Linked DNA regions of Homo sapiens: regions 1, 2, 3, 4, 5 and 6 are each linked to region 7. Evidence: promoter capture Hi-C in 16 types of primary human blood cells and fetal thymus (Javierre and others, 2016). All regions are on one chromosome and are shown on one strand. The core of a region is centred on a gene start or on the middle of the fragment in contact, and the rest is flanking DNA. Distances in the headings are between cores, read along the strand shown.

What was found. Contacts are between HindIII fragments. The CHiCAGO score rates a contact against its expected background, and 5 or more counts as called.
Region 1: a fragment that was not itself captured here is called in contact with the fragment with the promoter of KIF27 in region 7 in 16 of 17 cell types (non-activated CD4 T cells, monocytes, naive CD4 T cells and 13 more); the score reaches 13.9 in non-activated CD4 T cells.
Region 2: a contact is called between a fragment that was not itself captured here and the fragment with the promoter of KIF27 in region 7, in 2 of 17 cell types (monocytes and neutrophils). The highest score is 8.7, in monocytes.
Region 3: a contact is called between a fragment that was not itself captured here and the fragment with the promoter of KIF27 in region 7, in 2 of 17 cell types (neutrophils and monocytes). The highest score is 8.7, in neutrophils.
Region 4: a contact is called between a fragment that was not itself captured here and the fragment with the promoter of KIF27 in region 7, in 6 of 17 cell types (monocytes, M2 macrophages, neutrophils and 3 more). The highest score is 18.2, in monocytes.
Region 5: a fragment that was not itself captured here is called in contact with the fragment with the promoter of KIF27 in region 7 in 2 of 17 cell types (M0 macrophages and M2 macrophages); the score reaches 6.1 in M0 macrophages.
Region 6: a contact is called between a fragment that was not itself captured here and the fragment with the promoter of KIF27 in region 7, in 2 of 17 cell types (monocytes and neutrophils). The highest score is 5.9, in monocytes.

Annotation. Positions count from the first base shown.
Region 1 is chr9:84,289,744-84,293,274 of GRCh38, forward strand. It overlaps SLC28A3 (solute carrier family 28 member 3), which reads right to left. Exons shown (of 18, transcript NM_001199633.2): 10 at 2,925-3,005; 11 at 411-536. It overlaps SLC28A3-AS1 (SLC28A3 regulatory antisense RNA 1), which reads left to right. Exons shown (of 2, transcript XR_001746802.1): 2 at 197-393. Among named protein-coding and RNA genes, the nearest start is that of SLC28A3-AS1, 13 kb to the left of the region's middle. The HindIII fragment of the contact is 950 bases long and covers 1,330-2,279 here.
Region 2 is chr9:83,522,742-83,526,613 of GRCh38, forward strand. All of the region lies in intron 1 of FRMD3 (FERM domain containing 3), which reads right to left. Among named protein-coding and RNA genes, the nearest start is that of FRMD3, 14 kb to the right of the region's middle. The HindIII fragment of the contact is 1,214 bases long and covers 848-2,061 here.
Region 3 is chr9:84,331,414-84,335,056 of GRCh38, forward strand. The region is part of intron 1 of SLC28A3 (solute carrier family 28 member 3); the gene reads right to left. Among named protein-coding and RNA genes, the nearest start is that of SLC28A3, 7.5 kb to the right of the region's middle. The HindIII fragment of the contact is 2,998 bases long and covers 717-3,643 here.
Region 4 is chr9:84,373,333-84,376,952 of GRCh38, forward strand. No RefSeq gene overlaps it. Among named protein-coding and RNA genes, the nearest start is that of SLC28A3, 34 kb to the left of the region's middle. RefSeq lists an enhancer at 3,099-3,599. The HindIII fragment of the contact is 697 bases long and covers 1,102-1,798 here.
Region 5 is chr9:84,353,323-84,357,363 of GRCh38, forward strand. It overlaps a transcript of SLC28A3 not described here. Among named protein-coding and RNA genes, the nearest start is that of SLC28A3, 15 kb to the left of the region's middle. RefSeq lists an enhancer at 2,728-3,318. The HindIII fragment of the contact is 3,937 bases long and covers 1-3,919 here.
Region 6 is chr9:83,469,570-83,473,128 of GRCh38, forward strand. The region is part of intron 1 of FRMD3 (FERM domain containing 3); the gene reads right to left. Among named protein-coding and RNA genes, the nearest start is that of FRMD3, 67 kb to the right of the region's middle. The HindIII fragment of the contact is 1,299 bases long and covers 803-2,101 here.
Region 7 is chr9:83,919,257-83,923,313 of GRCh38, forward strand. KIF27 (kinesin family member 27) reads right to left here and starts at 2,176. Exons shown (of 18, transcript NM_017576.4): 1 at 2,115-2,176. LOC105376335 (serine/arginine repetitive matrix protein 1-like) reads left to right here and starts at 1,645. Exons shown (of 3, transcript XM_011519284.2): 1 at 1,645-2,005; 2 at 2,098-2,442. The coding sequence starts at 1,645. RefSeq lists enhancers at 1,708-2,457, 3,072-3,576 and silencers at 1,779-2,158, 2,189-2,338. The HindIII fragment of the contact is 5,103 bases long and covers 139-4,057 here.

The DNA of each region.
Region 1 (3,531 bases), core at 555-3,054, 370 kb after region 7:
ATGAATAGAAGTAGTTGCTTTCCAATAATTCATTTCCAAAAACAGGAGCAATTGGGATTTGGCCCATGGGCCATAGTTTACTGACTCCCAGTCCAGATCACCTTGACTGATGTAATAATTTTTTTTTTAACAGATTTAAATTTTCAACCAAAGCAACTTTATCATATGATTGCATTTTTCTGTTTTTATTCTGCAGATAGAACTCACATTTAGGCAGCAGGTATATGAAGCCCTGAAACTCCTTGGGATCCCTATGTTCAAATGCCAAAGCAACTGTGACCAACTTTTGCCATATGGCAAAAAAAGACACTCTCTTGGCCTCCTTTTTCCACCAGCAATGGAAAAGAAAAGAAATAACAATAATAAAGAAAGAAGAGGTTGGTGTTTTCATAATTCCAAAACATTCTTACCCCAAAAGAAATGTATGCACCTAGCACGCTTCCAGCAATGGTAGAGAACCCGGCGGTCATGATGGCGTGGAGTTCAGACTTGGTGATGTAAGGTAAATATGGTCGGACCAGCAGTGGAGACTCCGTCTGGAGACAAAGAAGGGTGACCAGATTCCTTTTTAAATCTGTGTGGGGGCAGGGGAAGGCATGCCAATCTACTCACAATTTTATTCTTTAAAGCAGACAGTTTCTAAGAGTGAACCTCAGACCAGCTCCATCAGCGTCACCTGGAAACTCGTTAGAAATGCAAATTATTTCGATTTACTAAATTAGAAACTCCAAGGGTGGGGGCTACCAATCTGTATTTTCACAAGCTTTCCGGGTGATTCCAATGCATGCTCAAATTTGAGAACCCACACCATCGACGTCTGGGTTATTTGAACTCTAGATCAGTTTCCATATGTGGTCATGTATAAATTTTGTAAAATTCGTGAGGCTAGACATAGAAGGCCTCCACCCAGCCTAGGACTGGACTCTGTGATGTCTTGGTGCACTTTTCTAAGGGCCAACTGACTCTATGCAGTGGCCTAACCTTCTGGATGGGTGATTTCTAAGCCACTGTGGCTTCCTGTCTTCCAACTTCACCTTGACAGACCCTAAACCTGTTTCCTGACCTCAGAGAAATAGACACAAGCATTAAAAACAAACAAACAAACAAACAAACAAACAACCTCAGCAATAACAAGAACAGGTGCCCGCAGGCCCTTCTGTAATTGAGAATCAGAGACCCCTCTCTGATGGGTGGAAAGGAAGAAGCAGACAGAGTGTAGTTGTAAAGGCTTGAATCCCATTAAGGAGGACAGGCAGCCTGCGGCATGGGGCTCTCCATAGATAATAGCTGTACTTTTAGCATATTAAGTATCAAATTGAACATCACAGAAGCTTGTGTGCAATTTTACAATTTTCTCCTTATTATCTCTAATTGTTCTGTAAGATTGAATGTGTGGAGCCTCGATTTACCGACTAAATAGGAACCCTGTGCGGGAGCCCTCTTACCCCACAGGTAGGAGCAATCAACTCAAGATGGTGCCCTAATTAGTCCTGAGAGATTTTATGACTGTAATTATAATAATTTCAACTCCTAGGGAAGGAAGCATGGGATGGGCCCCCACTCTAAAGACTATGCTCCAGGCTAGTAAGCATAGGTTTTTTTTCTTTTTTGAGACAGAGTTTTGCTCTTGTTGCCCAGGCTGGAGTGCAATGGCATGATCTCGGCTCACTGCAACCTCCACCTCCTGGGTTCAAGCAATTCTCCTGCCTCAGCCTCCTGAGTAGCTGGGATTCCAGGCATACGCCACCATGCCCAGCTAATTTTGTGTTTTTAGTAGAGACGGGGTTTCTCCGTGTTGGTCAGGCTGGTCTCAAACTCCCGACCTCAGGTGATCTGCCCGCCTTGGCCTCCCAAGGTGTTGGGATTACAGGCGTGAGCCACTGCGCCCAGCCGTAAGCATAGTCTTTAGAGTAGAGGCCCGTGCTTCTTGTTGGCTTACCAACAAGAAGTTTCAGCCTGCCAGGAGCAGTTGTAAGCCTGGGATTTGGGGCTATGTGTTTTTCTGAGTGACTTGATTTTTGCTTCAAATTCAGTTTCCTTGGGCAGTGGTGCTGGCAAGCGTTCATACCTGGTTTTCGTGGCGTGTGACTCCATTCTGCCTGAAGCTGCATATCTGGAGTGATGAGGGGCTTATTACAATTTCTTACTGATCCACCCCTTAGCCATGCTGCTATTTTGAGGGACACTCCTTGGCATGATATTTATTTGCTTAAATGGGCTTCAGGCAAAAGAGCGTTTCTCCATGTGATGGAACAGGGAGGTGAAAATTGAAGTCTAAAAGCTTATTTTTGATGAGAAGAGAAAAACCTAAAAGCATTTTTCTTCAGGCTCAGCAAAGACAGAATATTGGCCAGTTCAGACAAGTTGAGAATAAGCTCAAGTATTTACGCAGTTGCATGGTTGTTGGTGGAAAGGCTTTCTTGGTCTCCTCCATTGCCACAGGCATTATAGTTTAGAATGGGAGGCTGTTTGTAGCTTGGAGATTTCGAGATAGTGAAATCCATTCAAGTGGAAGAGCTACCAGCCTCTGAAGAGTTGACCAGAAACCTCACAATCACTAAATTCAGATTTATTGAGAATCTATATGAGAAGCTCTATGTCTATGCCTTAATAAAATGACAACCTTCCATCCTCTTCATAAACATTCTCAAGAACCCAATTCTACATACCATACCCAGACTGTTAAAAGGAATTTCTCTCTGTGTCTCTCTGTCTCTCTGTCTCTCTCTCTGTCTCTCTCTCTCTCTCTCTCTGTCTCTCTCTCTTCTCCCCCTGGAATCCGGACATTGCCAATACTGGGGGTTTCTTATTTTGACACCATTTTCTCTACACTAAAAGAACATTGTGTTATTTTCTTATTTGGCTTTTTGGAAAGAGACGATCCATTTCAACAGATGTTTTGTTCTGTTGATATTACAACTTACTTGTCCAACAAATATATTGCCAGAAGCAACTACAGATTCAATAGGAGATGATCCCGTAGTAACTAGCATGATCCATCCAACCTAAAAGGAAGAAAGGGACAAAGTCAGCAAAGAACTTTTTGTATACCCAAAACTTCAAAGTAGGGATTAAAATCCTTAAACTGGTGTAAAATATTGAGGGCTTCAACATTTGTCAGCAAGCTAATGATGGAGCTAAAGGTAAGTTTAACTTATTGAGCCCCTAGAGCAGGCCAAGCAAATCCTCTTATTGGAGTAGTAAGTCTGAGTCATTGCGTATACTTTGAACATTATACAAATCAATTTCTATAGGTCTATTGTATACAAGTAATAAATGACAATTGCTAACATGCTTATGGAAGGCTTTACTGCATTCCAGGCACTGTGTTAAGCCCTTGACAGTCCAGAAAATGCAATTAATTCTTACAATAACTCTTTGAGAGAGGTCCTATGTAATTATACTCATTTTATTAAAGAGGAAACCAAAGCACAGAACAGTTTAGTTGTTTTGTCAAAGGTCACCCATATGTAGCAGGATGTATTTGAGGTTTGGTCTTTTTTACTTAATTGAAATGAACGTGGTTTTTGG
Region 2 (3,872 bases), core at 205-2,704, 400 kb before region 7:
TTTAGTAGAGACGGGGTTTCACGGTGCTAGCCAGGATGATCTCGATCTCCTGACCTCTTAATCTGCCCGCCTCGGCCTCCCAAAGCGCTGGGATTACAGGCGTGAGCCACCGCGCCCAGCCCGATATATTTTTTAAAGTAGTAACATTGGAGGAGAGCCACTAGAGGTTAAAGAAAGGTTATGCCTTCCCCCAAGCCACACTCTGGCTCTACTATTGGCCCCTTTATGAGCTCCAATAACATCCTAGTATTTTTCTATCACAATAGTGCTATGCTGAATCTGTTTATGTGTCTGTCTGTCTTTTCTACTAGATTGGCAAGGATTAATTATTATTTGTCTTTTTGTATCTCTGCTACTCACAGCAGTCCCCAACAGAGGTATTCAATAAATGTTTGTTTGGTGAATGGATGGAGGATGGATGGATGGATGGATGGATGGATGGATGGATGGATGGACGGACGGACGGATGGATAGATTTACGGATGAGTGGATGGAAGAGTGGATGAGTGGATGGGTGGGTTGGTGGGTGAGTGGAAGAGTGGATAAATGATGAATGAATTAATGGATAGTTAGATGGATGAATAGATAGATAGATAGATGGATGAAAATATTTTCTTAAGTCTTCAGCTCTGTCTTCAGACTAGAATCTCACAATCTCTCCCTCTCTATCTCTCTCTGCATTTCCCATAACACCAAGAAAATGTTTTATATTTTATATTTAACAACTGCTCAATACACTAAGAGAGAAAAAAAGGCTGCCATTTCTAACCCAGTAAACACACTAAAGAAAGGTTGGGGAAAGGAAAAAAGTAATCTTTAACAATATATGTTGAATAATCGCATTAAAAGCTTCCCTTTCTCTATGGAGGTACAATTTGGAGATAAACCTAAACCACCTTCCTCTCTGTGGCATATGATTAAAATCTGCTTTGTCTGTCTAACTTACTATTCTCAAATTACCACACTGCTGCTGGCACTGCAAACTCAGGCTTCACAGCTGCCTTTGAATTACTGTATAACTTTTCCTCTTTTTTTTCCTTTTAATCAGCACTGAACCAAGAAAGTGCCATCTATACATGGTGGAAAAACTATGTCTTCAAACTTGGAGGCAAAAGGTGTCACTCAAGGTGCCCCCTTGTGTCAGGATGACCCTCAGCAGAAATACTTCTCCCCTGAGGTTTGGGAACACAGGAGGTGAAGATATCCTTGATAAGGTTCCAGGTGGCATAAAATAACCTGAAGTGTATTTTCCATCCCTACTCCACAGAGTTTATTACTCTTCTGCCTAAGCCTTCAAAACAGAGAGAGCCTGACATGGCAGTGGCTAGTGCCTAAGCAAAAATAATAGTAATACATTGTTTTCCTATTTTTCTAAAAGTCCTCTAAATACCATGCTCTGCATTGCTAGATTTTGACTTTCAGAGTCAATCTCAAAACTACAAGGTAAATTACATTAAAGGGCAGATAGAAAATTTCATTAGCATTACCCTTCCTTTTTCTCTTTTTACAACTTCTGGGGAGCTAATTTGAAATTTCAAACTACAAGCAATATTTGTACCATGCCAAACATGTAAAAGGAAAGGGGAGGTAGTTTTCAATTGTCTACTTATGTTAGATGACAAAATACTCATATAACCATGGTAAGTTGATTGCAATTTTATTTGGATGTACATTCAGCCACAGGTTACAAAAAGAAAGTAGACATGGAAAGAATTTAGACTGTGTCCTTGGATGACAGTTCCAAGACATCAATGTGCTTTTTCTACCCAGAGGTGTGATCTGTGTATGGCTTTTCTCTTGAGCTATTAAAAAAGTTGTCAGTGGAAAGAAATTATATCATTTAGACTACTGAGAACATTCAAAAACAAAATAATGGTGGTATTTAGTGTAATAAGAGCAAACCTAAAATACAAGACACAATACCCCATCCTAATCTTGCTAAATATGAGACATTGGACCAATCCTATAACATCTCTGTTTAAATCAACCTCAATTTAATCAATTAATACATATTATCATTATTATACTCGAGGATATCAAGAGGACTATAAGTATATAGAAAGCTTGCTGCTAAACAAAGAACCAATAAATACTCCACTTATCATAACATTGTAGACAATACCTACACAAGGTACAGATGACAAAGACTAGCATTATTATTTTCAGAACAATGGACAGTAATATGTGTATCGACCGGCCAAAAAATAACATTAGCTAGAAACATCAAGGAAGAATTATTAGCCAACTAGTTAATTAGGTGTTTGTCCTCTCTTCTATTAATAAGGCTAATTAGTTACTGATTTTTTAAAGACTGCTTGATTTTTATCATTATATTCATTAGTAAATAATATTGTGTTTGAATTCTCAGTTTACGTGTAAAGACCTTGGTTTGGTTAATCTTGACTTTCCAGATTAACGTTTAGCATCACGGACTAGAGTTTTAAAGCAACAAATTATACTTCTGAGGTGAGAGATTATAAGCCATACCCTGATCTGTTAACACGTTAATTGCTTTCCCCTGCTACAGAATAATCATATTTCAAACGTTAGCATAAAACATAGATATATTCAGATAAAACTCTATTGTACATTTAAGATTCAGGTCATTGCATTATTAATATTAGATTATTGTTGTTTGAGCAATTTTGTAGAACTTGAATTATTTTAATTTTCACAATAACCCCCTGAAAACTATATACAAAACAAAATTTGCCACAAGAGGTATCTGAGATATAAATAAATACTAAATAAAGATAAATTATTGCAGCATAACTTGCAAAGCTGCTCCTCATATAACATGTTTAATTTTGTAGCATGTTGATAGGATTTTAAAATGTATTATCTACTTAATGCTCCTGACACTGTCTCAAAGGGCAACTTCCCTAGAAAGAAAATCGTATGCTTTGACACTCAGAACTTGAAAACTGAAAGAGGTCTTTTTCATTTGCAAGTCCAAGCTAGGACATGAAGATTAAGGACAGAAAAGTGCTTTTCCACTGACAACCCTGGTGTGGCTGCCCCATTTGTAGAAGAAAATAGAGACCAGCTCTGGTTCAGGTGAGAGTTGCCTAACAAAGGAAAAACGATCAAGTACTATTGGAAAGAATTCCAGAGCTCACAATTCAGTGATCTACAAGCCTGCCCCAACCAGAAATACAGACAAAAAAGGAAGACCTGTCATGGAAGTTTTATTCATACCACATGGTTTCTGCCACCACTTGCAAGAACATTAACAACTCCCTTACTTCTGTCTCTATGTCAGACCTGTGTCTCTGGTAACTTTCATTCCTTATATCCAACTGTCTATTGAGAATTCTCCACTCAGACGCCCTACAGGCACTTCAAAATCAACGTACCCAAAATGGAACTCATTCTCTGTTCCCCCAACCTGCTTCTCCTCTAGTCTATCTCCTCAGTGTCAGCTTCACAGGTGTGTGACTTGCACATTTGCTTAGGGACCCGTGCCTAAAAGGACCCTGTACTTGGCGTAATGGTCTGCTATCATCACTTTGAAATTCTTAATAATTTTTTAACAAGGAGCTCTGCATTTTCATTTTGCACAGGACCACACAAGTTATGTGACCAGGACTGTCTCTCCTGGAATGGCATCGCCATTACCCAGTCATTGAAACTAACCATGTGGAACTCATCCCAGATTCTCCTTTCCTTAACTCCCAGATTCAGTCATCCTGTTTCATGCCTAGGGTTTTACACCAAGCAAGCAAGAGATCACTTTACTTGTAATGCCCTTTTTCTCCTTCTGAAAGAGTTTACTTCCACTTGTCCTTTAATTATTAATCAAGATTCATCTGTAACAGAGATACTTACTGATGCCCCAGCCTGCACTTGGTGCCTCCTCTTAGTCCTCCACC
Region 3 (3,643 bases), core at 966-3,465, 410 kb after region 7:
GTACGTGCTTGACAAGAAGTCTACACCTGTACTCCAGCAGGTTTGGATCCCTGATGGACTTACACTTACATGATCTCCCAAATTGTAAACTCCATTTAACAAACTCTCCAAACCTGCTTGACTGGCTTACTCATGGAGTAACTCAGCCTTTCCTGTGTGTTTGTGCAGAGTGAGGCCCATTTCCCCAGCCTAGTCCTCTCCCAAGACTTTCGTAAGTGAGTTCCACCCAACTAACTTCAGAGCAAGCTTGGGTTCTGTGCCTCTGAGAGCAGCTGTGGTAAGATTGATTGCTTATTCACAGGGAGGAGGAAACTTGAGTTGGGATTCCAAGAGATGCCTTTTAATAAATGTGTTAAAAAACATTCCTGCATTTTCCTCTTAGAAATTCTGAACTGTTTTGACCTCTGTTGCTGTTAACTTCCATCTCTTTGGATTCTTCCCCATCTCCTCTGAGTTTGGAAAAATCTTTCAGTTGCCCTGTTCCAAAAAGCCTCTCCCAAATATGGACACGTGGCAAAATATCTGTGGAGTGGGGAAAAGGTTCTTTTTTAAAGCAATGTTGATGATCACTGAGTGGTGTTAAAAGTAAATTTAAAAAATAATAATGCCAAAATAAGTGGATGTTCGTGTGGAAAGCAAACTTGACTCCTACCTTACACTATACATTAAACTCAATTTCAGGGGGAATAGAGATCCTCAATGTGAATGAAAGTATAAGCTTTTAGAAAATATCCTAATGACTTTAGAGCATAATACCCTGTTGTTCTCAACAATGAGCAATATGGACATTGTCATAATGAAGTGATGACTGCTTAGCCTCTAAATCTGGTAACTACTTTGGGACAATATGGGAGGAAAAGTGAAGACAGTGATGGTGTAAGAGCTAAATCCTCATCTGTCATATCAAGAAATCACTATATAATGTATAAAACAATCAAGAAATGCCTAAGTAGTTATGTGAGAAAAAAATAGAGGACATTGCTAAAAGAGTTAAAAGTCATTGCTCTGGAGAATTAGGAGGGATAGGGTAGGGGACTGGTAGGATGCATTATAAACTGAAGAGGCTTTTAAAAATTTCATGTATTAATATATGCATTCACTTGAAAAACTAAAAAAATAATAATTGGAAAAACCCATGAAGGTAACTACCAGAAGGAAAAACTGAGAGAATGAGAAGTGCTTGCCTCTGGAAAGAACAACTGGCAGGACTGTTGCTTTCATTGTAAGGCTTTTGGAGCCATTTGATTGTACTTAATCATTTTTATCTATTTCTTTAATAAAAACAATTTTATCTTAATAAAGAGTTACACTTGTTCGAAAAAAAAATCTTCATGATTTTGCAGGTTGGAAAAGATATTTTAGACAAGATACAGGAAAGAGAAGCAACGTTTCCTAAATGGGACCATATATAATTAACTTTTGTCCCAATGTTTCCTAAATGGGACCAATATAATTAACTTTTGTTCCTCAGAATATTCCATTAGAGTAAAAGATGGCTTCACAGTGGTAGAAGGTATTTACAAATCATAACTGACAAAGGGCTTGTCAATCGAGGAAAATGATGAGACAAGTCTCAATCATTTTAGCAGATTTATTTGCCAAAGTTAAGGAACTGCCTGGGAGACAGGTCTATCCCTTTCTCCAGAGATGATTTTGAGGGCTCCAAATTTAAAGGAGAAAGGGCGGGATAGTGAGAAGCACACAGTTTTCATGTAAACAAAGGGGGCAAAGGAAAAATGTGGAGAATCTGCATTTTACATAAGATAATACAGACGAAATGGGGTAGGGGAACAATCAGATATGCATTTGTATCTGGGGTGACTGCACCTGTAAAGATAAGTTATCAATTACATTGCCATGGTGAAGTTTTTATAGCTCACCAGGAATTTCCTTGTGGGCAAAACATGGGGGAAGCGTGTAGCTTTTCATCTTGTAGCCATCTTATTTAGGAACCAAAAGGGGGAGATAGGTATGCGTGACCCAGTTCCCAGCTTGACTTTTCCCTTTGGTTAAATGAGTTTGGGGTCCCAAAATTTAATTTCCTTTCATAGGCTTGTAACCAGAACATCTAAGGAACTCTTTCAAATAAAAATGGAAAAAATCCAGTAGAGAAAATGGGCAAGAAAGTTGAGCAAATATTTAAAAAGTTGGCATCTAACAACCAATAACAGGAAAATTTTAATTAAACTCAATGACATACTGCTACACACCCACCAGAATGGTTGACATTAAAAGGTCAGCTGAATAATGATGAGAAATGGGAATACTCACTCTGCTGATAGGCATGCAAATTGGTAAAATCACTTAGGAAACCAATCTGACACTATCAGCAAAGTTGAAAGTATATGTTTATTCCAGTGGCCTAGCAATTCCACTCCTAAGTACAACCCCAGAGTAAATTTATTACAGATACTCCCCCTGGCATGGATAACAGTGTCCCTAGCTGCAATGTTTGTAGAAGCTCCAAAAACCCCAAACTTAATAACGCAAATGTCCACTAGCAGCAAAATGTATAAGTTGTGGAATATTTACATGGCAGAATCCTGTGCATTATGAAATGGGATGAGCTGCAGTTACATGCAACACCATGTGAATCTTAGAGAGCTGATGGCCAGGCATGGTGGCTCACGCCTGTAATCCCAACACTTTGGGAGGCCAAGGCGGGTGGATCACGTGAGGTCAGGAGTTTGAGACCAGCCTGGCCAACAGGGTGAAACCCCGTCTCTACTAAAAATACAAGCCGGGCCTGGTGGCTCATGCCTGTATTCCCAGCTACTCAGGAGGCTGAAGCAGGAGAATCGCTTGAACTGGGGAGGCAGAGGTTGCAGTGAGCCAAGATCACGCCACTGCACTCTAGCCTGGGCAACAGAGCGAGACTCTGTCTCAAAAAAACAAAAAAAAAGTTTCAATATAAGCAAAGAATACATTTTGTGTTTCTATTATATAAAGTTCAAAACCAGGCAAAGGTACTGCTTGGGGATTCATAATTAGAAGTTAAGGTATAAAGAAAAGCAAGGAAGTAATTGCCCCACATTTGGGTCAGTAGTCACCCCTGGTTGGGTTTACCCCAGGGAAGGGAGGCAGCAGTGATGAAATGTGTAGGGCTGGACCCTGAGGGATGGCAATATCCTGTTTCTTGACCTGAGTGACAGTTCGCCTTATAAGTTGTATATTTGTTTTTATGTATTTTTCTGTATGTTGTATTTCACAACGAATTTTTTTTTTTTTAACATAAAAACACCTCCCCACAACTGCCTTTGCCTGCCCTAGGTCTTCCCCTTCCCCGCCCCTCCCTAGCACCACCACTGCACCAGAAGAGCGTTCATTCTGCTACCATTTTTCCTAGCCTAACTCCCGCTCATAACACAAACTTCTCCTCCTTCCCCAACCCTAGCGTCACCAGTAACCTCCTAGCTGGCAAGTCAAGTGAACCCGTGGCCTCACTCTATAGACTCCTCTGTCCTTTCGGAGTCTTTTCTGTTGACTTGTGGTTCTACTTTCCCTTGACTTCTCCAGATCGCCCCTCTCCTGGTTCTGCTGCTCTTTCTCTCCCTGTGGCCCTCTGCTTCATTCTCTGACATCTCTAACTTCCCCACTCCTTAAGCGCTACTGTTTCCCAGGCTTCCCTCACAGTGGTCTTATC
Region 4 (3,620 bases), core at 200-2,699, 450 kb after region 7:
TACTGTCTCCAAATGGTTGCCTTAACTCAAGTCTACAGTGTTGTAAAATCTTTTGTCCTCAAAGGCACAAGACGTTCTGAATTGGCCCCTTCAGTGTATTTCCAGGGTACTTTGTAATGACAGGAATGGTTCATCATTGAGTGGTAAGGTCCTGTAGCATATTCCTTATATGCATGTTTCATTCATTCCTCTCATTAATGATATGAGACAAGTCCCTTCCCTTCCCTTCCCTTCCCTTCCCTTCCCTTCCCTTCCCTTCTCTTCTCTTCCCTTCCCTTCCTTTCCCTTCCTTCCTGTCTCCTCTCTCCTCTCTCTCTCTCTTTCTCTCTATTTTTTTGTTGAGACGGAGTTTCACCATGTTGCCCAGGCTAGTCTCTAACTTGGGCTCACGTGGTCCACCTGCCTAGGTCTTCCAAAGCGATGGGATTACAGGCGTGAGCCACGGCACTTGGCCTATTCCATTTTCTAGATAACAAAAGTGAAGCCCAGGCTGGGTGTGGTGGCTCACGCCTGTAATCCCAGCACTTTGGGAGGCTGAGGCAGGTGGATCACTTGAGGTCAGGAGTTTGAGACCAGCCTGGCCAACTTGGTGAAACCCTGTCTGTACTAAAAATACAAAAATTAGCCAGGTGTGGTGGTGGGTGTCTGTAATCCTAGCTACTTGGGAGGCTGAGGCAAGAGAATTGCTTGAACCCAGGAGGCAGAGGTTGCAGTAAGCCGAGATTGTACTACTGCACTCCAGTCTGGGCAACAGAGTGAGACTCCAGCTCAAAAGAAAAAAAAAAGAAAAAAAAAAAAAAAAAGGAAGCCTGGAAACATTAGGTCACGTGCCCAAGTTTACACAGAATGACTATGAGCCAAGTTCCTAGCCCCTGTGTGAATGGTTACATTATGCCTTGTACTATTGCAATTTATTAATATTTACACGTCTGTTCCTTCTATTGGGTTAAAAACTCTTTGAAAAATTGGACAATGTCACGTTTGTCTTTGTGTTCTCCTTAGTTCCCCACACAGCTCCTTACACATCATAAGGGGGCAATAACACTGTGATGAGTGAATGAATTGCACTCAGATGCCTAACACTAGCACTTTGAATTTTCAAGCTTGTTCACATCTCCCATCTCCCAACAAAGAAGGATATTTTAATAAGAGTTGTGGGAGAAATTAACAGAAAGCAAACATTGCCAAGAAAAATCCTTTTTGAGATTGGTTCTGACAGTCACACAGCAAGGGAAGAAGAAAATGGTTCTGAAGGGGAGGAACCTCAGGAAGGGGTTCTCTAACATCTGATTCAAAGCAGAGTTCTTTGTTTGTGAAGTCTTGTTCTCATGCGGTTGAGATCTAAATCTCTATTTATAGATTAAAATGCTGCTAATGCTGGCAAGTTGCAGCAAATTGGTTGCCTGGAGATGATAATACTTTGTTAATCCAGTATCAAGCTGTGCTGGGCATTATTGAAACCCAGTCTAGGAAGGACTTTCTGATCATCGAGAATTAGAAGAAGGCTGGTGCAATTCCAAGTGGCATTTGCATCATGCATTTAGGAACAGTTGAAAGTAACCAACTTAAGGTGCTTGGGGTACCATTCCTTAAGGTGACCTCCTAAACTTGTCAGAAAGTTATCTCTGCTTTCCTTTATAGATTTGATGACCATATATGTACCCTTAGAAAATACATTTTTTGTTTTGCTTATTTTTGAACTTTATAAAAAATAGTATCATACTATGTGTATTCTGAAACTTGTTAATTCACTTTTTTCCTCAACATTATTTCCTGAGATTCAGTTCATCCATGTTGAAGCTTGTAGCTATGGTTCACTTATTTTTATTTTTTTATTTTTTTCTGAGATGGAGCTTTGCACTTCAGGCTGGAGTGCAGTGGTGCGATCTCGGCTCACTGCAACCTCCGTCTCCTGGGTTCAAGCAATTCTTCTGCCTCAGCCTCCAGAATAGCTGGGATTACAGTCACCATGCCCAGCTAATTTTTGTATTTTTAGTACAGATAGGGTTTCACCATGTTGGCCAGGCTGGTTTCGAATTCCTGACCTCAGGCGATCCTCCCGCCTCGGCCTCCCAAAGTGCTGGGATTACAGGTGTGAGCCACTGTGCCCTGCCGGTTTATTTATTTTTATTGCTGTATAGTATTCCATTGTATCAATGCTACCATTTACTTATCCAAACTTCCACTGATGAACATTTGAATTGTTCCAGTTCTTTTTATCATGAACAATGCTAAGAACATTCTTGAATATGTTTTTTGTGCACATGTGCAATAATTCTTGGGGTATACAATTAAGCCTGATATTGACATGAGTGTTCAATTTCTTAAGATAATGGACAACTATTTTGCACTGATGTTGAACCACTGTTGCTGGCAATTATGGGGGGAGCACTATATTTGGGACATGGGGAAGGGATGAGGCCAGGGAGGGGCTTGGTTGATGGGAGGGCAGGGAAAGAATTCTCAGCATAGAAAAGTGGTAGTTCCAGGCATTCTTGGGTGGGCCTGAGCTTAGCTGGTGAAAAACAGAAAGGCTGGAGCACAGAAGTGGGGGAACATTGGCAATGAGGTGGGAGAGGAAATCAGAGCCAAGTCCTGAAAGCCAGATTAAAGAATTTGATTTTATTCAATGTGAGGATTTTGAGATGGGGAGTGGATGTGATTTTATTTACATTTCTAAATAACATTTTGGCTGCTCTGTAGAGAATGGATTAGGGTTGAAAGCAAGAAGAACATTAGATGCTAATCATAACAGTCTGAGAGCCCGGGGCTGAGCAGTGCAGAACTGGTTGTGTCGTGGTAGGGGAGATAAGACCTGCTATCAGAGCAGATGTGGGCTGTGAAGGAGAGACAAGAATCAAGGCTGACTCTGAGTCACCAAACTTGTCCCATCTACCTCTTAAGTTTTTCTCAAATGTATGTGTCCCTTCTTTTTCCATTCCACTACCTCAGGTCTTACTATCTCTCATTTGACTACTGCAAGAAGCTGTCAACGAACTCTTCCCAGGGCCTCAAGCTGGCTCTCTTATCCTCCCTCCATCGATCTCCATATAGCTGATGAAATTACTTTTCTAATCAATGATTTTTCTAGATAAAGCAAGTCACATCATTTTCTTCATTAAAAATCTTAGGTGAGTCCCTAAATGCCCTTAGACCAAAACCTTATTCCTTAGGGATAGGAAAAGGAATTACAATGTTGAGTACTTTACATACCTTGAATCCTCATTTAATCCCTCCTAGAATTCCATGAAGAAGCGATTACCCTTGTTTTGTGGGTAATACAACTGAGGCCAGAGTGAAGGAATTTTCCCAACATCATAGGGTCACAGAGATAATAAATGACAGGGGTCTGTTCACATAAGCCAGTGGTTCCCAAACATGGGTGCAAGAGGGTCCTTGTTGGGGGCGAGAAGGCCCCCCAGGGCAATGATATCTCAATATCCTGGGGAGGCACCTGAGTTAATTTTCTCTCTCCCTCCCTCCCTTCTTTCTTTTTTTTTTAATTTCTTGACTTTACTTACTTATTTTTTGAGTCAGAGTCTCACTCTGTCACCCAGGCTGGAGTACAGTAGCGCCATCTTAACTCACTGCAACCTCCAACTCTTGGGCTCAAGCAGTCC
Region 5 (4,041 bases), core at 701-3,200, 430 kb after region 7:
TCTTAAACAACATGGTAAAACATCTGTAAGTTGAAGTATAACTTGGGAACAGGGAAATAATGATATTGAATTCTATTCCATCTACTGTACTAAAAACAATTTACAGGCTGGGCACACTGGCTCACTTCTGTAATCCCAGCACTTTAGGAGGCTGAGGTGGGCTGATCACTTGATGTCAGGAGTTCGAGGCCAGCATGGCCAACATGGTGAAACCCCATCTCTACTAAAAATACAAAAATTAGCCAGGCGTGTTGATGCGCGCCTGTAATCCCAACTACTTGGGAGGCTGAGGCAGGAGAATCACTTGAACTCGAGAGGTGGAGCTTGCAATGAGCCGAGACTGAGCCACTCTACTCCAGCCTGGGTGACAGAGCAAGACTCTGTCTCCAAAAACAAAAATTATAAACAGAAAAGAACTATGTCCTACACATGTAATGTAACAATCACAATCACAAATACACCAAACTATGTAAACCTATGTAGGTTTATATGCTTTCAGTTTGTATGCTTTCCTGTTAATTTTAGTTTTACTTATTTGCCTTGTTAGCATTCATTAGCATGATTCAAAACTTATCAAAACCAATCATTCCAGGTAAATCCCATTCATTCACTCAAAATATAAATTCTAATTACTGAAAGAAAAAATCCTACTTATCGGCTTCCTCTTATGATAGCTGTACATACTGAGATATTGGTGTCACTGTTCTTTGTTAGTATAGGAATGTGGCTCAATGCCTGGCTCTCACCTCATCTTGTTCTCTTTCTTCTTTGCTCACAAATCTTCCAAGTCCTCCAGATCTGTTCTGGCCACAGGACATTTTCACTTGAATTTGGACTGGCCCCTGGACTGGCTCTTTCTCTTTGCTCAGATCTTAGCTCCTCAGCGAGGCTGTCCCAGGCCACACTGTCCTGTTGCCAGGCCAACCCTCATAGAGGACACTGTTTTGTGAACCATGGGCTCTCCTGCATGGGGCATAGGGCTGTGCATGGAGGCAATGCAGAGGGTAGGTATCTAAGAGCTCTGAAAGCCTGGCTGGTAAATACCATCCCCCCTGAAAGGAACCCCACAGGTTACACCTAGGACTTCTTGTGCTAGAAACAATGAAGTTTTTAAACCTACCTAAGTTTATAGCCAAAGGATATAGGAGTGGCCTGGGAAAGAACAATGTTTATAATCGATTGAAACACATAAAACCTTCAAAAATTCATGAGTCTATAATGATACTTAAAAACGGAAACTCTAGGCCGGGCACAGTGGCTCACGCCAGTAATCCCGGCACTTTAGGAGGCTGCGGCAGGCAGATGGCTTGAGCCCAGCAGTTAGAAACCAGCCTGGGCAACATGGCGAAACCCTGTCTCTACTAAAAATACAAAAATTAGCTGGTATGGTGGCGTGTGCCTGTAATCCCAGCTACTCGAAAGGCTGAGGTGGGAGGATCGCTTGAGCCCAGGAGGCAGAGGTTGCAGTGAGTCTAGATCGTGCCACTGCACACCAGCCTGGGCAATAGAGTGAAACCCTGTCTCAAAAAGAGAAAAAAAGAAAAAAAAAAGAAAGAAAGAAAAAAGGAAACTCTGAAAAAAACCTAAAAAGGGAGAAAATAAGCATTTATATTGTTCATAAGGAATTGCATTCAGGGTAACTAAATAGCCCCAGTTGTTAAGAAGAAGCTATACCTTATATATCAATGCCAGCAACAAATATAAAAATGATAGAATTTGAAAAGCATGATTTTGTGATCCTTTGAGCAGGGATAATCAATTGGAATTAAATCACTGGTTGGGTAGCTTATGGGGTGCTGGACGTCGTATGGAGCCAAATTCACAGTGTGCAGATGACATATTGCCACAGGGGAAACAGTAAAACGCATAATAAAGATGTCAGGGCTGAGGCAGGAGGATCTCCTGAGGCCAGGAGTTGGAGATCAGCCTGGGCAACATAGTGATACCCCTGCCTCTGAAAAAAGAAATAGCCAGGCACAGTGGTGCATGCCTGTAGTCCCAGCTAACTGGGAGGCTGGGGTGGGAGGTCTGCTTGAGCCCAGGAGTTCAAGATTACAATGAGCTATGATCGTGCTACTATAGTACAGCCTGGGTGATGGGGTGAGACCATGTCTTGGGGGAAAAAAACACGTCAGGCCAATACTAATCCAAATCAACAATTTACTATACATGGGTCCACCAGATATCATGAACTTCTGATGTGGGGTGATAAAAAGTACATATTGTCATTTTCGGTTTGGTCTATATATATTTTGATTTCTTTTTTTTTGTAAGAGCTCTGAAGTCAGACTGCCTGGTTCTAATCCTAATTCCCCTATTTCTAGATTGGGAACTTGAGCAGTTTATGCAGACTCTCAGAGCCTCTTAGGGTTTTGTGAGGATCTAACGAGAATACTTGTGCAATTGTTGGAATGGGGCTGGGTACTTAAAACACTCAATACTCAATACATTAGCTATTATCATTGTAAGTGCCCTATTCTTCCTTTTCTTATTTTATTTTATTTTATTTTAGAAAGGTTCTTACTCTGTCACCCAGGCTGGATTGCAGTGGTACAATCATGGCTCACTGCAGCCTTGACCTCCCTGGTCTCAGGTGATCCTTCCACCTCAGCCTCCCAAGTAGCTGGGACTACGGGTGCACCCCACCACACCCAGCTAATTTTTTTTAAAAAAATTGCAGAGATGGGGGTTTCACCATATTGTCCAGGCTGGTCTCAAACTCTTGGGCTCAAGCAATCCGACTGCCTCAGCCTCCCAAAGTGCTAGGATTATAGGCATGAGCCACTGCACCCAGCACCTATTATTTCTTGAATAAGTGCAAACTATTGTCGTAATAGCCATAGATAGCTATATAGCTCACCTCCCCCTTCCACCCAGTTCAGCCCATGGGATTCTAGACTTACAGCATGGGATAATTTGAGACCCATCAAGGCATCAGGACCAAAGTTTCAGGCCCTCCTCCCATCATTAACCCATCCTCAAGGCCTGAGGAGGTCAGTTAAGGGCTCCGAAACTGGGCTTCCTCATGAACCTGAAAGAAAAGTGGGCAGGGCCTCAAATCTGTGGCCTATGGGGAGAAAGGTGACGCACACCTGGGCAGGAAGGTATTGTTCAGTGTGACTATCTGCTAAATCCCTGGGGCTCCATCCAGCTAAGATAAAATGTGATGGTTCCCATTCTCAGTAGACAATACACCAATCCTATTTTTCTTAAATTTACCTAAATGAGGCCGGGCAAGGTGGCTCACGCTCGTAATCCCAGCACTTTGGGAGGCCAAGGCAGGTGGATCACAAGGTTAGGAATTCGAGACCAGCCAGGCCAATATGGTGAAACCCCGTCTCTACTAAAAATACAAAAAATTAGCTGGGCCTAGTGGCATGTGCCTGTAATCCCAGCTACTCAGGAGGCTGAGGCAGGAGAATCACTTGAACCCGGGAAGCAGAGGTTGCAGTGAGCTGAGATCACGCCACTGCACTCCAGCCTGGGCAACAAAGTGAGACTCTGTCTCAAAAAAATAAATAAATAAAATAAAATAAAATAAAATAAATTTATCAAAATGAAACTGAGACCCGCCCTGATTCTATTTCCCAGAATTAGTGAACAAATGTTTGTTTACTGAATCCTATAAAGGATAAATACAATTTTTTCATTTTTTATTATCGTAATTCTTCCAGAATAGATTCCATAGCACACATCCCCTTGTAAAACACTATAGTGCATTCATTTATGCCATTGGTTTCCTGTCTTCCCTGCTAGACTGTCAGCTTCATGAAGGCCGGGAACTTTGTTTTATTCATTGACACAGCTCAAGCATGTACAGCAGTCCTAGTGCATGGGTAGGGGTTTAATAGATATCAGTTTAATTGTTCAAAAATCAAACTTGGGTTTTGATTTGTCCACTGAATGAAAATTTGCTCTAAGCTTGATTTCACAATCTTCATTCACGAGAAGTAAAAATATGGGGTTTAGGTGCACAGCCTGTGAAATGAATACTATTTTTCTCCTTCCAAGACTGTTTTGAGTCAGGAAAGTGTAACGGCT
Region 6 (3,559 bases), core at 202-2,701, 450 kb before region 7:
CTTAAGACCAAATAATTGCACCTTTTCAAAGTCATTGATAAGGATGTATGAACCACCTCATGGAAAACATGGAATTAAATAAGAGCAACAACGTCCTTTTTTATTTGAGACAAAGAGAAAAAAAAAACACATTAAACTGGAGGAGAGGGAAATGCCTGAATTCAAAGCTCAGATGGGAATTAGAAACCGGCTATTGTCAGGTAAAGGCTCCGTGGTCATACATAATTAAAACTCATGCAGCCAGTGTCTTCTCACCAATGAGAGATCTCAGAAAACTAAGATGGGGGGCGGGGAGAAAGCCCGCAGGAGCAGCTGCTGGTCCACTAGTTCTCAAACTCTTACGCACGTTTGAATTCCCTAGAGCTGTATAAAAGTAGAGATTCCCAGGCTGAAGAGCTCTGGGGATAGGACCCAGGCATTTGTACTTTTTAAAGTACAGTTGATCCGGTGTGTTGAAACCATTAAATCTGGCTGAGAGGAGCTATGAACTCATAACCATTCCCAGTTTTCCAGAAGAAACTGATGTAGCAAATTTAAAAGAATTTTTTTTAAATAAGGAGAGGTTCTACCACTCAGGGAACACCTAAGCACCACAGCCCCAGATTCCAGCTGCTCTGAAGTTCCATCTATAGTTCCCTCTCCACTGGAGCACATTTAGAAAAGCCCAGAGAAGGTTCTGGACCTCACCCCACTGCACTTACTGAACTGAACCCAAACTTCCCATTAGAGAGGGGGCGATGGCTTACACGCTGAACTTAGTGTTGATCTGGGCTGCAGTCCTCACCCTGCCATTTTCTATATAAGCTTAGACAAGTTCCCTAACTTATCTGAGCCTCAGTTACCTCAGATCTCTCTCAGAGGGTTGTTTTGAGATTTGAGAGAGAACACATGTAAATCAGCTTGCAGAGTGGCACACAGGGCAGGGGGCCTAGTAAACGTTTATTTGTTAATTTGTTTAAGGGACTATGCTGCTGCCAGAGACTGGATTTGAATTGTCAGCCTCAAAAATCCCCTTGCCTTGTGATAGCTCTCCAATCCTCTGCACACCAATGTGTGCCTAACCCTGAGGCTGACCTTTGATGTCCCAGAAGGGTCCCGATCAGAAGGTCTGGATTCATGAATAGAATACACAAGCTAATCTGGTAGGATGTGGTACAATGATTTTTGATGTCAAAGATGTTTCATGGTGCCTTGCACATTGCAGATGAATAATAAATGAATATTTGCAGGCTGGATTATTCAAAGAAGACTTGGAGTTAACCTGTGAATTTCACTTTAGGGTGATTCTCCTTTTTCTTCACATGCAATAAAAGTGACTGAAGAATGTGATCTTACACAAGCTGGAGCATTTTCCCCCATCTGTTTTAGTTTCTAAATCTTTAAAACTAATTAATGGTTACTAACAAAACATAGAAGCAAACAGCAGTAGAGAACAATTTAATGGTCCTGCCTCAGTACTAGAGGAAAACTGCTCACAGCTAACTCTGTCTCATAAAACTCCAGTTTTAGGGGGGAGAAGGTGACATCCCTCTGCCTCTAGACAGGTGAGAGGAAATTGAGAATAAAAGATGGACCAACACGTACTCCCTCAAGATGATACACTCAGAACAGATTTGACAGCACAGAGAACGGCTCTGGCCTTCTGCTCTGCTGGTCAAACTGGCACAAATACTGAAAAGATGAAGCAGGAAAAAGAAATTGAAACATTCTGGGCAACTTGTAAATTCCTAGGTCTATCAGGGAGTCTAACAACCCATTAGGCAACTGGAAAAACAGGCAACTATCTTCACGGCTCTGCTCCATTTTCTCATATCAATATCTAGCGTTACACAATAATGCTCAGCAGATGACTGAGTTCCTCTTTCACCATTTTGAGCTATCATTCACAAGGGAAGGGCATGAGGACACAGTTGCAGGTCAGTGAGGGTGGGTGGGACACCGGCTTGGGAAACTGAATGCAGGGAGGCAAGGCTGGATGAGCAGGTCCAGGAAAGCCCGTACTGCTCCACACAAAGGAAGAGAGAGCATCAGGAAGAACAGGGACTCATCCTCTCCCTGGAAAAGGGCTAAAAACCAATCATTGCAAATTCACCTTGTTCAAAGCTTCTTTTCTGACCACAATGGGCTAGATGGTCTCTGAGAAGACCTGGGAGGTTTATTTTACCAACAGAAACATTTGTATTTGTTTAAGTGGTGAAGTATGAAACCTCTGTGATGAAATGGCTGCTGTTTTACTGACTGAACCCAAAATTCTCACCAGGGAGCTAGCAATGGCGTCCCACACTGGACTTGGAGTTGATCTGGACTCCAGCTCTGGGCCTGTCATTTCCTAACTATGTAACTTTGGGCAAGTGTCCTAACTCATGTGAGCCTTGTATCCTTAAATCCACCTAAGAGGCTTGTTGAGGTTTGAATGTGAGAATACAAGCAAATCACCTTGTATAGTGACAACACAGAGCAAGGGCCTCGTGAACATTCATTTGCTCATTCATTGAAGGGACTAGGGTGCTACCAGAGATGCCACTGGGAAAAACTCCATTCCCAGCCCTATTTTCCCCAGAACTCACCGCTCAGATTTTAGTAAGCATAGTGCAAAAATAGTGGTCCATGGTCAAATAAGTATAGGAAAAGCTGGAGTCAACAACGTCAAACTAGTTTGCTCACTTGCCCAAGAGCCATAAATAAGCTGATGTGTGCTATGAGCTGCAGAGAAGATCAGGGTGAGGGAAATAAAACCTGCAGCATTTCTCAAGCATAATTCTTCAAGGAACATCTGTTATGACACACACGTGAAACATGCCCCCAAAGAGTTCAGGAAACGCTCATCAGGAACAAAGGTTAGTAATACATGGGAGTGAGTGGCTCACCCAGTCACCCCATGGGATCTGACATTTCCTGACTGGTGTTTACCTAGGTGACAGAGGAGACATTCTGGAGCCAGAAACAATGATAATGCTACCAGGAAAGTAGAACACCACCCAAAGGAACGCCACACCAGCCCAGCCCAGCTCCTCCTCACTAGGGGCCAGCACAATATCCATTCGGTGACTTTTATTTCATGAGAACATATCTCTACCTTTATAAAGCATACTGTCAACAGAAAAGTCAGATTTTCTTACTGAAAGAATCACTTTTTGTGTGAATGGATCAATTTTTCAAAGTGTGAAAACCTGTGCCATGAGAGTTGACTCTGCCACCGATGAGAAGAAAGGATTTGGGGTTATTTCTAAATTTCTCATATAAAATATCTTTTTCGATAGTTTTATGCTGGACTACCTCAAATGCACATAATTTATACTTGCATAAAATGCCAGTAGGCTTTCCTCATAGGCAGTCAAGTCACGAGTGTTCTTTCAAAACTATTCTCTAATCTGCCTCTTCATTTCCCTTCTACAGCCACCAACCCTGCCACACTCACCAGGATTGTGGCGAAACCTCCCAGGCTCCATGCTTACAATATTTCCCCTTCCAACGCTTTCTGCATCCTGCCAGTTTAACCTCCAAAATCAATCATTATTATATTCCTCAAAGACTTAGATGTTCCCCCTTTGTATATGGA
Region 7 (4,057 bases), core at 926-3,425:
AAAAGTTAAACATACAGTTATCTCTTGACCCAGCAATTCCACTCCATCAAATGATCCAGCAATTCCACTCCCAAGAGAAATGAAAACATTGTGTTCGCATAAAAACTTACATACAAATGTTCAGTTTTGGAAGGATAAAGCTTATACAAAATTTAACAAGTAATCTATGACAATGTTTGAGTGCAGATGATGAAAAGTAATGAATTTGAGGTGAGGTTAGGTTCTTTGGAAAAGCTGCTGAGTCTTGAAGATTACCATTAAGTAACACAGACAACTAGACTGAAATAATATTTTATTAATAACACTAACAACAATGAATTGATAATATTCACTACCCTTGAAAAAAAAAAAACCATGGCCCAGCACGGTGGTTCACATCTGTAATCCCAGCACTTTGGGAGGCCAGGGCGGGTGGATCACTTGAGCCCAGGAGTTCGAGACCAGCCTGGGCAACATGGAGAAACCCTGTCTCTACTAAAAATACAAAAATTAGGCAGGCATGGTGGCGTGCGCCTGTAATCCCAGCTACTCAGAAGGCTGAAGCGAGAGGATCCCTCCTGAAAACAAAACAAAACAAATGTGAGCCACGATGCCCAGCCTCATTTCTTGGGGTTTTTAATGGTAATATCTATAAAGAATTTGGTTATAAAGGCAACTGAAACTTATTCTAAGCATTAAAAAAAATAATAATGGGGCCGGGCACAGTGGTTCACACCTGTAATCCCAGCACTTTGGGAGGCCAAGGCAGGTGGATCGCTTCAGCCCACGAGTTCCAGACCAGCCTGGGCAACATGGTGAAACCCTGTCTCTACTAAAAATACAAGAATGTGCCAGGCTGTGGTGACGCACCTGTAGTCCCAGCTACTTGGGAGGCTGAGATTGGAGGATCGCTTGAGCCCGGGAGGTTGAGGCTGCAGTGTGCCACTGCACTCCAGCCTGAGTAACAGAGCGAGACCCTGTCTCAAAACAAAACAAACAAACAATAGTAATGGTCCACAAACATAGGGCTTGTAAAACATCAATATACAAGAAATAAAGTTTTTACACAATCCATAGCACTTATACTTCAGATTCTGATCAATTATAGTCATCAGAAACATACGTATTATGTTGCCAATAAATGATTTAAAAAAAAGCAAAATCTGATTGGTCGTATTTAAGTATACTCAACGGGTTTTTGAAATCTGAGCAAAGGCAAGAGAAATATTGAATCCCTCATGTCATGTCACTGGTCAGGAATGAGTGTCTCCAAAAACCGTTGCCATCCCGTACCCTTGATTTCCCAGAAAGCAGTGGTTGTCTTAAATGTGTGGTTTGTTAATTATTTTCATAAAAAACTTGCCAGTAGATGGACAGTAAATCGCATACGGAGCTCAGAAAAGGCCCCAAATGCGTAAAGACGACAAAAGAGTAAAGAAGGGCAAACAACAAGGATTTTCAACACTGGAGACTTAAAAGGTGTTACTTAAAAGGTGTTTCAAAGAAAGAATCTGGGCGCTTTGCTCTTTATAGTCACCTGCCTCCGAGGGAGGGAGCTCTCGGGCTTGAATGTGCCCAAGGTTCAACCTCTACGGTAGGAAATGCGCCCAAGTTTCAACCTCTACGGTGGGAAATGCGCCCAAGTTTCAACCTCTACGGTGGGAAATGCGCCCAAGTTTCAACCTCTACGGTGGGAAAAAGACGCCTGCGATAAAACAAAGCGCTCGGTGGTGGTGGCCCTCGCGTCGCACCTCACGCCGTGCAGCGACACGAGACGAACACAGGGTGCGCTCTGAAAGGCCGGGTCCCGCGTTCCGGTCGATCGGTGTTCCCCGGGACCCGCTCCTCAGGGCTGACCCAACTTCCTCCGGAAGGGGCGCTCTGCCTCTAGTCGCTCGCCGGCTCCCAGCCCCGACCCCAGACCCCTCGGACGCCCCCATAGGCCTAGCTGGCGCCCCAACCGCCCACCCTCCGCTACCCACCCGCGGCGGCCCCGACCCCAAGCCGGAGCCTACTAGTCCCAACGGCCGGCTGGGGGCGCGGGAGCGGCGGGCGCGGCGGGCTGGAGGGCGGGCACCGCGAAGGGAGGGCGCCCCACTTCCCCGCACCGCCCGCCAGGCCCGCCGAGCACTGACCGGCTCGGGACAGCCCAGGCCCCTGTCGGCGAGCGCTGGACTCCTCAGCTTCGCTCTGCCACACCGCGCAGCCGCCGTCCGCGTCTTTTGTTGTCGCGAGTTCTCCTGGCAACCGGCGAAGCCCGCCTCCCGCCGCGTCCTCTCCTGGATGCCGCGTCCTGGCCCCGCCCCCATCCTGGCCACGCCTCCAAGCCCGCCGCGCAGGAGTCCTGCGTCCCCAGGAAGTCCGCAAAGGGCCGGCCCCTGGGCTTGCCTGCAAATCCGAGTTGTGTCCCACCAACGCGCTGGGACCGGTCTGTGAGGCCTGAGCGCAAGCATCTTTCTACGGGTTCGTGAAATGAGTGAGAACGATTCCACACCGTGTTTCAATATCTTAGCTACCAATTCAGTTTATTTTTATTTTTATTGAGTAAAACTTGCCTAACATAAACCATCTTAAAACTCACAATTCAGTGGCGTTTAATGCATTCACAGTGTTGTGCAACCATCACCTCTGTATATAGTTCAGAAACATTTTCATAACCCCAAAAGAAAATCCCCAAACCAGTTAGCAGTCATTCCTTCTGGTTCCCCTCTCCCCACAACCCCAGCCAGCCACTAATCTACTTTCTGACTCTGTGATAGCTTTACCTATTCTGGGCATTTCTTTATTGATGGAATCATTCAGTATATGACCTTTTGTGTCTAGCTTCTTTTGCTTAATGTTTTCAAGATGCAGTCATGTTGTAACATCTATCAGGACTTCTTTTCTTTTTTTTCTTTTCTTTTTTTTGAGACCGAGTCGCGCTCTGTCGCCCAAGCTGGAGTGCAGTGGCGTGATCTCGGCTCTCTGCAACCTCCACCTCCCGGGTTCAAGCGATTCTCCTGCCTTAGCCTCCCGAGTAGCTGGGATTACAGGCGCGTGCCACCACGCCCGGCTAATTTTTTGTATTTTTAGTAGAGACGGGGTTTGTTTCACTGTGTTAGCCAGGATGGTCTTGATCTCCTGACCTCGTGATCTGCCCGCCTCGGCCTTCCAAAGTGCTGGGATTACAGGCGTGAGCCACCACGCCCGGCCCTTTAGATGGAGTTTCGCTCTTATTGCCCAGGCTGGAATGCAATGGCGCCATCTAGGCTCAACGCAACCTCCACCTCATGGGTTCAAGCGATTCTCCTGCCTCAGCCTCCGGAGTAGCTGGGATTACAGGCATGAGCCACCCTGCCCGGCCCTATCAGGACTTTTTAGGGCTGAAAAAATTCCATTGTATGGATATAGACATACCACATTTTGTTTATCCATTCTTCAGCTGGTGGTGGACATTTGGGCTGTTTCCATGCTGCTATGGACATTCACATACAATATTTGGATGTCTGTTTTCAGTTCCTTTTTTTTTTTTGAGATGGAGTCTCGCTCTGTTGCCCAGGCTGGAGTGCAGTGGCGCTATCTCAACTCACTGCAAGCTCCGCCTCATGGGTTCAAGCAATTCTCCTGCCTCAGCCTCTGGAGTAGCTGGGATTACAGGCATGTGCCACCACCACGCCTGGCTAAGTTTTCTGTATTTTTAGTAGAGACGGGGTTTCACCATGTTGGTCAGGCTGGGCTCGAACTCCCGACCTCAGGTGATCCGCCCACCTTGGCCTCCCAAAGTGCTGGGATTATAGGCGTGAGCCACCGCGCCGAGCCTGTTTTCAGGTCTTTTAGGTATGGACGTAAGAGTGGAATTGCTGGGTCGTATGGTAATATTTAACTTTACCAATTTAGTTTTAAATGCTTTAATGCCTCCTGTTTTTAGTAGCACAATCTAAGCATCTTCAAAAACCCTTCCTTCTCTCATGAAATATAGGAATGAAGGTGGGGGAAAAAAGCTGACTATTTTATTTATAGTTTTTATTTTTTTTTCTTTTAACTGAATTATTTAAAATTTTAAAAATTCAGTCTGGGCACAGTGGCTCACACCTGTAAT